Regions from separate parts of the Homo sapiens genome. Here all the other regions are linked to region 2. The links are contacts of gene promoters, found by promoter capture Hi-C in blood cells and fetal thymus (Javierre and others, 2016). All regions are on one chromosome and are shown on one strand. Each heading gives the region's core, a stretch centred on a gene start or on the middle of the fragment in contact. The rest is flanking DNA. Distances are from core to core; before and after follow the strand shown. Region 1 has its middle 16 kb from the start of RPL22L1. Region 2 holds the start of SEC62 (SEC62 preprotein translocation factor). Region 3 overlaps EIF5A2 (eukaryotic translation initiation factor 5A2).

Evidence for each region. The method cuts DNA at HindIII sites, captures the fragments that hold promoters and counts their contacts. A CHiCAGO score of 5 or more calls a contact.
Region 1: a contact is called between a fragment that was not itself captured here and the fragment with the promoter of SEC62 in region 2, in 1 of 17 cell types (total B cells). The highest score is 5.5, in total B cells.
Region 3: a contact is called between a fragment that was not itself captured here and the fragment with the promoter of SEC62 in region 2, in 6 of 17 cell types (naive B cells, non-activated CD4 T cells, total B cells and 3 more). The highest score is 6.3, in naive B cells.

The regions. Positions count from the first base shown.
Region 1 is chr3:170,852,753-170,856,369 of GRCh38, reverse strand. No RefSeq gene overlaps it. Among named protein-coding and RNA genes, the nearest start is that of RPL22L1, 16 kb to the left of the region's middle. The HindIII fragment of the contact is 892 bases long and covers 1,101-1,992 here.
Region 2 is chr3:169,964,748-169,968,497 of GRCh38, reverse strand. SEC62 (SEC62 preprotein translocation factor) reads right to left here and starts at 1,691. Exons shown (of 8, transcript NM_003262.4): 1 at 1,640-1,691. The coding sequence starts at 1,675. It also overlaps the pseudogene FHL1P1. RefSeq lists enhancers at 1-16, 1,573-2,012. The HindIII fragment of the contact is 8,040 bases long and covers 1,031-3,750 here.
Region 3 is chr3:170,904,583-170,908,010 of GRCh38, reverse strand. EIF5A2 (eukaryotic translation initiation factor 5A2) reads left to right here. Exons shown (of 5, transcript NM_020390.6): 2 at 170-369; 3 at 918-1,022. The coding sequence starts at 205. Among named protein-coding and RNA genes, the nearest start is that of EIF5A2, 2.3 kb to the left of the region's middle. The HindIII fragment of the contact is 744 bases long and covers 1,769-2,512 here.

The DNA.
Region 1 (3,617 bases), core at 297-2,796, 890 kb before region 2:
AGAATTCATTTATGTTTTCTGCTAGTACTTACATATTTTCATCTTAAAAAAATGTAGGTCTCTATTCTATTTGGAATTTATCCTGGTTTACAATTTGAGAAGTGGATCCAATTATACCTTTTTCCCATGTGACTACCCACCTATACCATTACCCCTGATGAAAAAGTTCCCAGGAAGTTTTGCTTAGCATAGGTTTTCCTACTTACTGTCTGGAAACCCTTGTATGTGGTCATGCTGAAGGGACTGGAGTCTAGATATATAGCTTCAGTGTGTGCTCTTTTACAAGCTGGATGATTAAAATGCCAGGAAGGCCAGTTTTAAACAATGTGTTGCATTTACAAATGGCTTTCTCTTTTCTTTTGATCCCTTAACAGCCCTCTGTGGCACAATATTATCTTCCCATTTTTCAGATGAAAAAACCAGGTCTCAGGTTTACTGGCTTGCCCATGGTCACACCATGGCACCCACCTCTCACTCCTCACCCAGTGCTCCTCCCACACACGGGGCCATGTCACACATCCTGCCTCTCTGTTGCCTACTAGCTTTGTGACCTTGGACACATCTCTTCACCCTCTGGGCCTCAGTTTCCCCTTCTGTATATAAAGAAGTGGTTAAAAATAGGTCAGCATTTCTCGGGCTTTAGTAACACCTGCTTCCTTTTGATAAACACAGATATTTCTCATGTTCCTTGTTCCCAGTTCCAATTGCCACCCTGTGATATAACTGATGCATAAATATCCCCACCAACCAAGGTATTTTGGGGCTTTCTATTCTGAAACAAAACAAAGTAAGATTTTTGGGATAATTTTCCCACTATAAACTCATAATATTGGATATACCTTTTTTTTTTTTTTTTTTTTTTTTTTTTTGAGACGGAGTCTTGCTGTGTCGCCAGGCTGGGGTGCAGTGGCGCAATCTCGGCTCACTGCAACTTCCGCCTCCCAGGTTCAAGCGATTCTCCTGCCTCAGCCTCCTGAGTAGCTGGGATTACAGGCCCACACCACCACACCTGGCTAATTTTTTGTATTTTAGTAGAGATAGGGTTTCACCAGGTTGGCCAGGATGGTCTCGGTCTCCTGACCTCATGATACACACAAGCTTCTTGAGAGTAACATACTTCCCCCATGATAAGGCTTTTTTTTTCTGTCCTAAAATCCTATGAGTTAATGAGCCAAACTGGGAATCATGATCTGCTATCTCAATTATGATGGAATAGATATGTTTTCTCCCAAGGGAGGGAACACTGCAACTCCTCTCTCCCTCTTTCTCTGAGATGGGGAGGTGTGAATTACAGATTCCATACATGTCACAAATATATGGTCAATGATTTCTGCCTTGGCAGTCGCAGTCATGGGAGATGATGGGTGAGTTATATATACTCTCTGCACTCAAGGAAATCCCAGTTCTAACGAGGGGAGCAAATGTGGGTACAAATGACTTTAGGTAAGTGTGGTTCATGCAGTAATAGAGATATTACAAAATGCTTTAGAAGCACCAATACCATAATGAGTGGGAAAAGGAATCCAAGAAGGCCTTCTGCAGGAGGTGGCTTACCCTGACTTCTCTTTAAGGAAGAATGGGAATTGATGGGGCAGAGAAGAAGAGGGAGAGAATTCCAGGCTGAGGAGGAATGGTGATAGTGGCTACTACTCATCGAAGGCATCTGTTTTGGAATCTTTACATACTACATCTCATTTAATTTCCACAGCTACCCTTCAAGCTAGTTATTAGTCCCCTTTTACAAATCAGAAAACCAAGGGCTTAGAGTGCTAAACAGTCGGTCTACGGCCACACAGCTAATAAGTTCCAAATTGGAATTTAAATTCAGATCTCTCTGGCTTCAATGCTCATGCTCTGTAAATGCTTTAGTGTAAAAAAATGTTTCTAAATTTCTCCCTGCCAGGCAATCTTTTCTCACAGTGATGCACATTCAGCTGGCTCCTTAGGAGAACCAAGCCTAAGAATAATCTAGCTTTTGAAGAGAACCAAGCTTCTTTTTTCCTCTTCTGGAGAACCACAAACTGGCTTAACAGAGGGCTCTCTGACGCACAGTTTTATTGTAAGAAGGCCAGTCACAGGAGACGGCCTACTGCCTTCAAGAAACAGCATGGAAGATTCCTTATTTCATCACCCCTGTACTTTTCATTGAGGTATGAAACAGACTTTTCCAATGAGACTTTTTCTCTCCTATTTCAGCTGAGACTCCAAGAACTGAGAACAAAATTAAGGTGCCAAATATTCCCACATTCCAAATCTATGCAGAGCTTACAAAGGAGGTGCTCCAGCTCCAGTTTTCTAAGACTTAGTTCATTTCCTACTTCCAGGACACATGAGAAATTGAAGACTTTTAGGCATTTGACTCATCCTTGAGAAAAACTAAGGCAAAGGCAGTGGCTGGAGCAGTTTGCCTACGGGAGAGCAATGAGGGGTACATTTCCATAGCTACAAGGAGGCACAGGTGCTTCCCCTGGACCAGATGTAGTCCACAGATGTAGTGCACGGGGAAGGACCAGGCTTGGGTTGAGTTCTTGTTCACCTAAGAGGACTGCTTGGGAGAGAAGTGGGACCCCAAACAGAAAGAGTCTGTGTATAAGGGACAACCACATGCTCAGGAGCTACAGGTAGTGAGTGAAGATCCTGAGAAATGGCATTGCTTATGTCACGAATGTTGCAGCAAAAGATTCTCTGTGATAAATCTTTGAGAAATCCAGAAATGTATACTTCAAGAGAAAGAAGAAGCCTTGAACTTTCTTCAAGCCCAGAAAGCCACATCACCAAACTGTAGTGGTGGAGACAGACCTTTTCTGTCCCTTCCTTTTGCCTCCCAGACCCTGCTCATTTCAAGGCCAACCCCAGAGAAGCCAGAGGCAGCCTATTGAAGTTGGAGGAGGTACACACCTTGGAATTCCCTGGTACACAAACTAATACCACTGCCTTTTTGTTTAAGCTATATCATAAACATTCTGACACTTTGACAGAATTTTTGGTTTATTTGTTTTCCTCCCTCACTAGACTGTAAATACTTCGAGGCTAAAAACCAGGTCAAATTTATCTCTGTGTGCCTTTCTGGGTAAGCAAATCCATATAACTACAAAAGAATCCCAAGTCAGATAATTAGTAACATTACCTTTCATTCATAAATGTAGAAAGGCAACCAAGGTTCACTCAAAATGAGTAGAACCAACAGTATCAAAGAAAATGATTGGAATGAACAAATTAAAACAAGTGACCCAGGACAGATATGCAAGTAGCAGAAGAAAGTTTCCCTCCGCCCAAGAAAATCTGGATCCTCATATTGCGAGGTAGGCCAGGTAGGATGAAGGGAAAAGCTCATAACTTCCTGAAGAAGTTTCAGTACTCCAAAGGATAAAAAGAAAATCCCAAAAGCTTCCAGAGGGAAGAGAAAACAAAACAAAACAGTTTACCTACAAAAAAATAATCTTGAATTGGACCTACTAAGGGAGTGCACTAAGCTTACCAGCAGGAATGTCTGGGTCTCATCAGCTATAAGAATCCTTTCCTGTCCTTAGGCTTCCTGTTTTCTATAAATTAAGAGATTAAACCAGCAGATTTCTGTTTCTCTCTCTCTCTCTCTCTGTCTCTCTCTCTCTCTCTCG
Region 2 (3,750 bases), core at 442-2,941:
TAAAAATTAACTTGCTCAAAGTTACTCAGCCAATAATTGGTGGAGGTGGGGTACAAACAGGCAGTTTGGCTCAAGTTTTAGCTCTCTGCCACTGTCACATTACTCCACAGCCTCTGTTTAATATAAGATCACAACTAAATAAGAGCAGCTATTCAAAAGGTGAATTATATAGCCCTTACAACAATATTAAAGAGCAACTGGAATTGTAAAACAATGTGTATTGAAGGGCATAAAATTGTACTGTCAAGTGTAAATCTAAGGAGTTCTGTAAGTACAAATCTGACAGACAATTTCAATATACAATCTAATAAAATACTGTATACCCACGTCAGAGGAATAACACTAACTCTTGAAAGATTAAGAACAGTATAATTAGAAACTTCTACTGATCTTAAGACCTAGTCTTATCTGTCTGAACTCGAAATCTGCCTCTTTCTAATTCCCTTCTGCACCCTGTTCGGAACTACTTTATTTCTGCCAAATTCCAAAATTCCAAATTTACTGATCATGTGTGTCTTTTTCACAGCACTTAAAAAGTTTACAGAAGAATTTTAACTTGCATAGCTCAAAACATCTGTATTGTACGCCAATAAATCGATAAACTTAAAAAAAAAAAGAAGGGATAAAATGGAAGAAAGAAAAAATCATTCTAAGCAATGAAATAGTAAGGAACAGAAAGGCAATGATGAATGTAACAATTTATGATTATAGTAACAATTTACTACATGTGATCAATTTGAGGGCTTATGAAGGTTTCTCAGCACATCAGCTGATGAGACGACTAATAAATATCCTGAGTCCAAGATGTTCTACATAATTAATCCTCTTGGCAAAGAACAAGAACCAGGGAAAATCGCAAGGAAGAAATGCACAAATGACACGCATGTGGAATTAGGGGGAGATGTTATGTACGTTACTACGAGGATGACACACTGGCATGTGAAAGGTTTCTGGGCTCCACCAGCTCGTTGCAGCACCAACGAGGTTGTGGTTGTTTACACCACGTCGCCCGGAAAAAAGCCGGCAAGCTTCAAGTGGACTATTAAGTTAATAATATTGAAGGGAAAGAAGGGCAACGCAACTGAACATCTGGATGAGCAGATCCCTGCCTAGGCCCCGAGGCAGCTGACCAAGTCCAGATCATTCCCCCTTACGGTCTATGCGCACAAAGAACCAGCTGCTTTAGGTCAGTCCGCCGCCTCCTGCTACCCCTATTACCGTGGCCTTAATTTCAGGCCAGCTAAGGCCAGAGGATGGGGTGAAGGGAGGGGAGGAGCCCCGGGAAGGGTCAGCGTCTGCGCCCCAGGGGAGGCTGACCTTCCAGCTCAGGCCCGGGACAGCGCGACCACAGGAACTCCAGGCCCACAGCCGCGCCTCCGCAGCCGGATTCTGAGCGCGGCGCCTCCTTCCTTCCCCTGCTGCTCCACCACCACCTCCGTCTCTGTCTCCGCCGTCGCCAACACCGCCCCCCCTCAGGCCCCTCACAACGCGCAGCCTGCAGCCAGCTGCCTCGCGGCGGAACCCCACCCCACCCCACCCCACCTCGCCCTTGCTTTCGCTCGCCCTTTTAGGGGGCTTTCCCCGCCCCTTCCACTATCCAGCGCGCCGAAGCCCCCTGCCCAGAGCTCGGCTTTGCTACCTGGATCCGCTTCTTGTGTCTCCTGCGTTCCGCCATGTTGGCCGCTCCGCCCGGTTCCCTCTGACGTGGAGCGAGGAGGGGGCGGTGGAAACCTCGCGAGAACGCGCCCCGAGGCCCGTTATGTAATCCGCCGGCTGGCGCCCCTGGAATGGGGAGGTCGGCCGCCTGGCGGGGCCAGCGGTCCTTAGCGGTGCCTTCTCTCCCCTCTTCCCTCCGCTCCTGCTGTGCGGGAACTGGAGAATCGTTAGGACGTGGAGGAAGCAGAGAAGTGGATCAGAGAACAGGAGGGCTGGGAAGAGTCCTGGTTTCTCAATCCTGACTGAGCATCTGAATCACCTGAGAAGCTACTAAAATGCAGATTCCCCGACCCCATCCCCTTAGAGTCAGAGTCTGTGCATTTAGGGTGCGGCCTTTCTCAGAGGGATCGACTGAGACCTACTGAACCCTAGAAGTCTTTACCTGAGGCAGTTCCTGCAATGTACTGTATATTTCATGACATTCCATGTAAAAGATGACAAGACCGAGACCGTTGAGTGACAGAGATAAGAACTGACTTATCTAAGGCTCCACAGGTGGTAGATGGCAGAGCCGAGACCTGAGCCAATTATCTTTTCTCCTGCACTGTGCGGGGTAATACAGCTCGTTTAAAACAAGCTGGAGTCTCCATTCCGTTTTCCGCGTTGCTTCTCACAACTCACTGTTAGAATCCAGAAGTAAGAGAACCCGGGGAAGCGTAAGGAAGATGAATAGGACAAAGATTCTAAGAAGGTGGGAAGGAAGAAGGCTGCAGTCTATTTCAAGTCTGGTGAATTTCAATCACTGTAGCCTTTATTGTTATTTTAGAGCCACCTAGACCAAAAGAGAAGGAGCTCAAATTGCTGGTAAGTGCTTAGATAGAAATTCCCTTGACTGACTTTATAGAGATCTTTAAAGCGTTTTTAATTGTAGAAAATTGGGAAAATTCAGAATAGAAAGATGTTCTTTTTTTTTTGATGCTGAGTTTCGCTCTATATTGCCCAAGCTGGAGTGCAGTGGCGCAGTCTCGGCTCACTGCATCACCGAACTCCTCGTCTCAACTGATCTCCCTCCTCAGCCTCCTGAGTAGCTGGAACTACAGGCATGAGCCACCACACCTGGCTAATTTTTACTTTTTTTGTGTGGAGATGGAGTTTCCTTATGTTGCCCGGGCGGGTCTTGAACTCCTGGGCTCAAAACGATCCACCTGTCTCTGTCTCCTGAGTAACTGGAACTACAGGCGTGAGCCACTGTGACCGTTCAGTTTATTTTCTTATAGTATTCTGACTTTGTGTGTGTGTGTGCATGTGTGTTTGTATTTATATTTTTTCCTGTTTCCCAAATTGAGATCATATGCAATAAGGCAGCTGCTTTTTTCACTTAATGTTAGGTTGTAAGCGTTTATTATACCATTAAAATTTTTTTCCAGGTTTCCCATATTATATATCTAACCTAAGAGCAATTAAATATGTAAGTAAGGCAAATTGCAGCATCTTGATGCCTAATTTTTTAATAAAGTAAGATTGCTGAATTTTTTTTTTTTTTTTGGACTATGCAGTTCTGGTCTCAGGAGTCATTTAATTCCTTTCTCCTCTATAATCTATAATTTGGGTGTGTGTATAGTCAGGGATGGGGTGAGAAAGAAGTAATTATTCTTGCCAATTAACCCAAAACATAATATAGAATATGAAATGTCTTTATTTCCTTCAATCCCTCTACCCACCCAGAATGATGAATCTGTTTTGTGCTGTTTTATGTGGACATAAACACTGGACTATTTTATAGGAGACCTGGTCTATAAATGAAAATATTATTGCATTCAGTAGGTATTGAGTGCCTACTAGATAGATGTCAAATGTTAGGTTAGGACTATGGTGGGGAATAAAAATCCTTTATAGACAATGACTCATCCTCAAGTTACTGCCTTACTATTTTCTTCATCAGCAGAGCTTTAATTTAGTGTCCTCTTGTTCTGTCATTCACTCCTTAGATTACAACAATTTGGTTTCTACCTCCACCATCCAGTAACAATTATTTTGTCAAACCCAATACCTTCTCTCAGCTGGCATCTTACTCAGTATTTGACAATATTGACT
Region 3 (3,428 bases), core at 891-3,390, 940 kb before region 2:
GAAAAGTTTGTAGAGGCCAGAGTTAGAAAGTGGCCACTAGTCTAGGGTGGGTGTTCCTTACATGCAGAAATAACGGGCCCATGATGCTTGGCACATAACTTGTCCGAAATGAGACGTTTCCCTGCCTACATACCCGTTGTTAAAAAGCAAACACAAACTTTTTGTGTAGTTCCCACGGAAAAACTACCATCTCCCCTGCCCACCATGGCAGACGAAATTGATTTCACTACTGGAGATGCCGGGGCTTCCAGCACTTACCCTATGCAGTGCTCGGCCTTGCGCAAAAACGGCTTCGTGGTGCTCAAAGGACGACCATGCAAAATAGTGGAGATGTCAACTTCCAAAACTGGAAAGCATGGTCATGCCAAGGTAAGTACCCTTGCAGATCAGGCTTTGGCTTCGGCGTTGGGACTTTGATCATTTGTATTCCGTTACAGATCATGAGATTTCTATACTTAAAATTTTGTAATAAGCACTATTTTTTCCTTCCCACAATTACTGGGTAATCAGTTATTACGTTGAATACTTAAAGGTAGCATTCCCTTCTTGGGCCCTTACAATGTTCATTAACTGGGAACTGAAACTTTCCTGAATCCTAGTGACCTATAAGATCTATTTAGTTTACAGATGAGAAAACCTGTTCTAGCAATTCTAAGAAATCTACACTTTATTTTTCTTGTGTAATCTCATAATTGAATCACTGGTCTATATTGGGTCTTGACATGTCGTGATACTGTTTAGTTGTTTACTGCCTCTTAATTGTAAGACCACTACATTTTTTTTTAAGTAAAATTAGATGACCTTGGAAGGAGGAGAAAAAGAATCTGTTGTAATCAGCATTGGTATTGTGCTCTTGTGTGTGTAATGAGTGATATACTTGGCAGAGATTAAACAGGTTTCCTGTTCTCCTCTGTTAGGTTCACCTTGTTGGAATTGATATTTTCACGGGCAAAAAATATGAAGATATTTGTCCTTCTACTCACAACATGGATGTTCCAAATATTAAGAGAAATGATTATCAAGTAAGCACTGATTTTCTTTAGAATGTTGCTTGTTTCTTCAAGGTGCAAATACTTTGTACTATCAGTAATAATTTGACAAAACCCAAGAGTAGTTTTGTAGGTTTTTCTAACCAATTATTAGGCACCAGCTATCTTAGAAATTGGAGAAATAGTGATGTTTAACACATGTACTTTTCTAGGATTATTGCTAGTTTGCTATTTTTTTCACATTCTTGCATTTTTTAAAAAGTCAAATACTTATTAGTGTTCTCAGGCCAAGTGACTGCATATTGCAATTAAGTCCAATGTTTAGTAAAAGTACTATTCTCTCTGTTGTAAAATATTTCTTGTTCTAATTTAAAACATCCCTCCTGGATGTTTTGTTTCTTTTCACTGATCAGACCTGAGACATTCAAGAAACTACTGAAATTCATGTTCCTACCAAGTTTTTGCATTAATGAATGTTAGTCAGAACTTGACATTCTTAAGTAGAGAAATAAGTTGAAAGCCATAAATATAAAGGATAAAGTACCTGGTCACTGAGTATGGTGAAGAAAACACAAAAACTATATAATTGGTTAAATTATACTTAGTGACCATGCTATGACCTTTTGCTAAATTATGTATGTAAATTTCAAGTTTTAGTTCCAGTTATACATTTGGGTAGGTCATATTTAATGATAGCATTTTGTTGTTTGAAGTATTGATGATAACAAAATAATTGACCTTATAGGATGTGGAAGCTCAGATTACTTATAACTAAAGCTTTTCTTGAAAGTCTTCAATTTCTGTATCAAGCATACCATATATCAAACTCATTTCTGCTCATTTTACATAGTGAAAAATACAAAGTTGACACTGGTATTTGTTTTATCCGACTTAAACTGATTTTTTTCTGTACCCTTTGTTGTATTGTATAAATTTCTTTTAATGTTGCTATCAACTGCACTTACGCAATGATTTCCTTTTGCTGTTTGTCCACATGCAAACATACTTTTTTGTGGTTTTAATCTAGTAAACACTTTTATATTTTCACTTTCCTACTTGTCATAAATGTTTTCTAGGTTGCTTTGAAGTCTTTGTAGAAATTTGAATTGTCTTGCAAGTGGGTTTTTTTAACCAGGTAGATCTGGGTTTGGATCTAGTTCTGTCACTTTCTAGTTGGATGATTTTGGACAAGTTATACACCTTTCTGAGCCTGTTTTCTCATCTACAAAATAGTGATAATAGGAGGATTAAATGAGAAAATGTACCCCATTAAGAACTCCATAAGTAGATACGTACCAAAAAGTGCTGTTCTGTTTCCCCCTTTTCCTATGTAAAAATTCTACTTAATCATTTCATTATTGTTGGAGCACCAACTTTGATGTGGTACATAGTAGGTGCTCGAAAAATATTTGTTAAATGTATATGTGATTACTGAATGTGGTAGAGATAGTACAGCAGGCTAAAGTTGAGCGTAGAATGTTGTCAAAATTGGGTTTCTCTTTTCGTCTTAAAGTATGAAAGCTTTGACTATTCAATATTAATTATATTCAGTAATATTCATTCAATATAGAATGCTTTTGCCTGTTGCATGTTTCAGAAAGATGGTATCAGCAGTTCAGATAATTACTATTATACTATGATAAGGTTAGCCAGTCATTGATTGGAGCTCAAGACTTAAAGGAAAAATTTGGTTTGGGTCCTAGACTAGGATGAGGCAAATGAAGTGAGGGAGGCTCTTGCCTCAGGCACAAAATTTTAAATAAAGACAGAACTAGTAACAATGACAAGCCATATAGGAGCTCAAGGCGCAAAGAAAATTAATTCTGATCCCATCTTTATTTAGAATTTTGGTATTTTATCATAGGATTTTTGCATTAATTCTAATTTTTTAAAATATTGCATTAAAATGCCTATCTGATCACTGAGGTTTTTTTGGTGCCTTCTTTAATTTTGCACCCAAGACAAGTGTCTTACTTCACCCTTGTCCCAACCCTTGGTATGTACTCCGCACTGCAAAGTGGATAAGAGGATGATTTAAGCCAGGCAGGCCTGGTCCTAGTCTTACTTTGGCACTTAATAGCTGTGTGACCTTGGTTGACAAGTTACTTAACCTGTTTTGCTTCCATTTCTTTCTTTATAAAGCAGAGACATAAATAATAACGCCTCATGGGATCATTTTGAGGTTTAATTAGTTAATACAACAACGCCTGGCATAGAAAGTATTCAGTATTTCTCTGCTCTTCATTTTCAAGTCAGCATAGAAAAATAACTTATTTCTGTTAATTGTTTAAAAAACTAGTTCTCCAACCTGGGCAATGTGGTGAGACGCCATCTTTACAAAATACAGAAAAAAAAAAATTAGCGAGGCATGGTGGTGTACACAGCTGTAGTCCCAGCAGACCCAGAGGCTGAGGTGGGAGGATCACTTGAGCCTTGGGA